Regions from separate parts of the Homo sapiens genome. Here region 2 is linked to region 1. Evidence: promoter capture Hi-C in 16 types of primary human blood cells and fetal thymus (Javierre and others, 2016). All regions are on one chromosome and are shown on one strand. The core of a region is centred on a gene start or on the middle of the fragment in contact, and the rest is flanking DNA. Distances in the headings are between cores, read along the strand shown. Region 1 holds the start of TXNL4A (thioredoxin like 4A). Region 2 overlaps LOC105371951 (a long non-coding RNA gene).

Region 1 (2,528 bases), core at 8-2,507:
TTTCACCATGTTGGCCAGACTGGTCTTGAACTCCCGACCATAGGCGATCCGCCGGCCTCGGCCTCCCAAAGTGCTGGGATTACAGGCGTGAGCCACCGCGCCCGGGCGTGATTTGTTTTAAATTTGTCATCTAAAGGACCACCAGGATAGCTAGATAGTAGACAAGAGTTTTACTATCAATATCAGTTTGCAAACCAGGGAGTCTCCAGCATGAACCCAAAGTGCTCTCTCAGAAGAACAGAGGTTAGAGGTTTTATTTTAAAAAGAGAAATATTAACTTATTTCTCTTTGAGAAAGTTCACTGGCACTAGTAAGGGTTTGGGGAGCTCTGACTGGTGAGCGAAGCCAGGGGGCCAGATCAGTCCTGGAGGTGGAAGTTATGCTGAAGCTATGGAATAAAACTGGCTTTAGGTCGGGCGCGGTGGCTTCTTCCTGTAATTTCAGCGCTTTGGGAGGCCGAGGCGGGCAGATCACTTGAGGTCAGGAGTTCAAGACCAGCCTGGCCAACATGGTTAAACCCCGTCTCTACTAAGTACAAAAAAACACTAGCCGGGCTGGCGCCTTGTAGTCCCAGCTTATGGGGAGGCGGAGGCAGGAGAAGCGCTTGACCCCGGGAGGCGGAGGCTGCAGTGGGCCAAGATCACGTCACTGCACGTCTCAAAAAAAAATTTTTTTTCTTTATAAAAAGACAAATTAAAAAACCTGGTTTCAGGTTACAACAGGCAGCTCAGCAGCCGGCCTGATGGTGACATTCCTCAAGGACGGCCTGCCCAGTGCTTCCTCCCTACCCCGCTGCTCGACTCTGCTGTGGTTGGGTATGGCAACAACGACACATTTTTATGATCAAGTTTCACAAATGACACACATGAACTGTCTTAGTAACACACAGAAACAAGCACCAGAAAGGAAGAAAACGAGCCGCAGTGCCGGGCATTCCGGGCCTTTCTGGACGTCCCCATCCGTGGCTGGAGGACAGCCCGGGCGGCGGCGGGCGGCCTCGGGGCGGGAGCGTGGGGGCAGGGCACGGCGAGCCCGGGGCTTCTCAGGACCACCAGGCCGCCTGGACGCTGGGGAGGAACCCCCACTCCGACAGCTGCTATGACGGAACCAACGGCGCTCCACGGTGCCCAGGTCGCCGCCGCTCCACCCGGCCAACTACACGTTCGCGCGGCGCCTATACGCACATGCCGTCAGCACGCACGGCGCTAGCGCGCGCGCATGCCGTCAGCACGCACGGCGTCGGTGCGTGCGCGCCCAGACGTTCTGCCGGGTGGCAGTCCCAGCGGAGTTTGCGTGTGCGGGCGGGACCGGATTTCGTCCGTGGGCCCGGGGGCGGCGGGGGCCGGGGAGTGAGGGGCCGGCTGAGCCCACCTCGCTGGGCCCTCCCTGGCGCCCCGCCTTGGGCGGCGGCGAGCGCGCGGGCCGCCATGTCGTACATGCTCCCGCACCTGCACAACGGCTGGCAGGTGGACCAGGCCATCCTCTCGGAGGAGGACCGCGTGGTCGTCATCCGCTTCGGCCACGACTGGGATCCTACGTGCATGAAGATGGACGAGGTCCTGTACAGCATCGCCGAGAAGGTAGCGCGCCGGACTCTCCCGCTCTGCGGGCTGTGCTTCCGCATCTGCCCCGCGCCTCTGCCCTGCCGGCGTCGCCTGGGGGCGCGAGCTGTTCCCCGAGGAGGGGCCGCGGCTCCGTCGTTCAGGCGATTCCTCCCCTCGCTGCGGTCGAGCGCTCTCGGGGACTGTGCCGGCGTTTCACGCCTTTTTCTGCGGGGAGCTCTTGTAGTTTTTCATATTTTAAAGGGTTTATGATCCCCCTCCTCTCAAATGAATTAATTATTTCTGTTGATAAGGCGTTTTTCCCAAACTTATAGTTCAGTGAACAAAATGCACTTGCAGGTTTTATTGAGAGCGCGGATCCTTAATTTAAAAGGACGTCTTTTTTTGGTACCTGAGTTATTCGTTGTATGCATAAAGCAGGACTTTCATGTTCATAGCATGAGAAATCCTGCTTTTCTGTGGGTGTGTTTTTTTATCCCACCACGCTTTTTGTGAGTCATGTGGTTTACAGCTTACAGTGATTGAGGTGCAGTAAACATCAGGAGAAAATAGAAATATGCTTTGTTAGAATTAGTTCTCTGAATTTCTAATATTAGTACACTGAGTGGTCTTGGCATTTACTTGCTGACAATAAAAGTTGTAGGACACTATTTTATAACCAGATTTCATTCTTTTTCTGTGGTTCCTCATAGCAATTTTAGGATGACTTTTATTGAGGTTTTGCAGCTGTAGCAATAGGGCAAAGGGCACAAATACTAGGGTGTTAATAAAATATTTGCCATATTAATTTTCCATAAGTAATTTGAGAGGTTATTCCTTTTAATGAAGAGTAAAAGTAACATTGAAGCTATCTTTTCTTTCACAGATGCTAAAAAGTAGGCCTGGGTTAAAATAACTCCTTTGAGTAAAGAGTAACAGATGTAAGGACATATTTTATATTCAGGAAAGGAAAGACTATCTGGCCTG
Region 2 (2,528 bases), core at 21-2,520, about 80 Mb after region 1:
GCAACCTGCGCTTTTTTGTTGTTGTTGTTTCTTTTTCTTTTTGAGAGAGAGCCTTGCTCTGTCGCCCATGCTGGAGTGTAGTGATGCAATCTTGGCTCACTGCAACCTCCGCCTCCCAGGCTCAAGTGATCGTCATGCCTCAGTCTCCTGAGGAGCAGGGATTACAGGTGTGTACCACCACGCCTGACTAATTTTTGTGTTTTCAGTAGAGATGGGGTTTCTGCTGTGTTGACCAGGCTGGTCTCAAACTCCTGGCCTCAAGCTATCTGCCCACGGCCTCCCAAACTTCTGGGATTATAGGCGTGAGCCACCATGCCCGGCCAGCTTTTTCTTTAGTAACTCTCATCACACTTCTATTTTTTTAATGTCTGTATTCCCCCAAGTACACTATAAACAGGAATCGTGGCTATCTCGTAGGCACTCAGGAATTACTTGATGCTGTGAGAACTGGATGTGAAAGTTACCTATTTGAAGTTTATTCATCATGTAGATGACCAGGGAATCTTGTAGACCAAGTTTTGGTCCCTTTGGTACAACTAGCTTCTTCCAGCCTCTCTGAAGATCCGCAGACCTAAATTTAAGACAAATGGGGGCAGAGTGAGGAGGTGGAACCATGCTAGCAACTGAAAGGAAGCATAAAAAGAAATTTGCACAACTGGCCTTCCTAAACGTCAGAGTTAAAGATGACAGCGACCTCATCGCCATGACACACATTGCTAAGCCCTGCCCTCCATGTGTTTAATGGATGGGATTTTCTTCTTAAGGGTGACTTCTTTAATGAATAAATTGGTAAGATCTTAACCTGCATGTTTATACATAAATAAGTTCTATAAAACATAGCCAAATATCAGAAATGTTTTCACTTGGTGAATTACCTACAATTTATTGCTTAGAATGTACCCTCCTTCCTCATCTGGCCATGGGAAATCCTGTCCAACTTTAAAATCTCCATTTAATGCTAACTTTTTCACATAAACTGAAAGCCTTCTTATACAATCACCCCTTTGTGTCAAATACTATTATGTTTTATTATGGCTGATTTAGTTTCCTATGAGTGCTGTAATGAATTATCACAAACCTAGTGGCTTAAAACAACGTAAGTTTATTATTATCTTACAGTTCTGGTGGTCAGAAGTCTGAGACTGGTCTTAACATTAAGGTGTTGGCAGGACTGCATTCCTTCTAGAGGCTCTGAGGGTGAATTCTTTTTTTCTTTTCTTTTTCACACAGAGTCTCACTTTTTTGCCTAGACTGGAGTGCAGTGGCACCATCTCAGCTCACTGCAACCTCCGCCTCCTGGGTTCAAGCGATTCTTGTGCCTCAGCCTCCCAAGTAGCTGGGATTACAGGCACGCACCACCACGCTAGCTAATTTTTGTATTTTTAGTAGAGACAGGGTTTTGCCATGTTGGCCAGGCTGGTCTCGAACTCCTGACCTCAGGCGATCCACCCGCCTCGGCATCCCAAAGTGCTGGGATTACAGGAGTGAGGCACCGCACCTGGCCTCTGAGGGTGGATCTATTCCTTACCCTTCCCAGATTCTAGATACTGTCCACATTCCTTGGCTCCTGGCTCCATTCCAGCCACAGCATCACTCCAACCCCTGCTTGAGTCGTCATAGCGCCTTCTCTGACTCTGACCTCTGCCTTCCTTTTAGAAGGTCCCTTGTGATTACGTTAGCCCCAACTGGATAATTCCAGATACTGTTTTCATTTTAAGATCCTTAATCACATCAGCCAGTCCCTTTTGGAAGACAACCAAGATAATCATAGGTTCAGGAGATTAAAACATGGACATATTTGTAGAAGTATTTTTCTGTCTACCAAGGACAGACAATAAATAATAAAACAGAAAACAACAAATATCACTACACCTTCTTAGAGCATCTACAGTTTAATATTCCTATGTTTCTCTCTTCTCTCTCTACTAAATTATAAATTATAAGCCCTACCAGGTGTAGTGGTTCATGCCTGTGATCCCAGCTCTTTGGGAGGCCAAGCGGGGCAGATCACATGAGGTCAGGAGTCCGAGACTAGCCTGGCCAACATGGTGAAATTCCAGCTCTACTAAAAATATAAAAAATTAGCCGGGCGTGGTGGCATGCGCCTCTAATCCCAGCTACTTGGGAGGCAGGGGCAGAAGAATCACTTGAACCCAGGAGGCAGAGGTTGCAGTGAGCCAAGATTGCGCCATTGCACTCCAGCCTGGGTGACAGAGCAAGACTCTGTCTAAAAAATAAATAATAAATAATAAACTATAAGCCCTGCCTTAAATAATTTGGAATCCTGCCGGGCACGGTGGCTCATGCCTGTAATCCCGGCACTTTGGGAGGCCGAGGCGGGCGAATTACTTGAGGTCAGGAGTTCGAGACCAGCTTGGCCAATGTGGTGAAACTCCGTCTCTAAAAATACAAAACATAGCTGGGCATCGTGCCGGGCACCTGTAGTCCCAGCTACTCGGGAGGCTGAGGCAAGAGAATCACTTGAACCTGGGAGGCGGAGGATGCAGTGAGCTGAGATCACACCATTG

Evidence for each region. The method cuts DNA at HindIII sites, captures the fragments that hold promoters and counts their contacts. A CHiCAGO score of 5 or more calls a contact.
Region 2: a fragment that was not itself captured here is called in contact with the fragment with the promoter of TXNL4A in region 1 in 1 of 17 cell types (total CD4 T cells); the score reaches 6.2 in total CD4 T cells.

The regions. Positions count from the first base shown.
Region 1 is chr18:79,987,292-79,989,819 of GRCh38, reverse strand. It overlaps TXNL4A (thioredoxin like 4A), which reads left to right and starts at 1,257. Exons shown (of 3, transcript NM_006701.5): 1 at 1,257-1,580. The coding sequence starts at 1,428. RefSeq lists silencers at 875-1,164, 1,205-1,444. The HindIII fragment of the contact is 10,310 bases long and covers 1-2,528 here.
Region 2 is chr18:153,452-155,979 of GRCh38, reverse strand. LOC105371951 (a long non-coding RNA gene) reads right to left here. Exons shown (of 4, transcript XR_935081.2): 3 at 465-571. Among named protein-coding and RNA genes, the nearest start is that of USP14, 3.8 kb to the left of the region's middle. The HindIII fragment of the contact is 5,646 bases long and covers 1-2,528 here.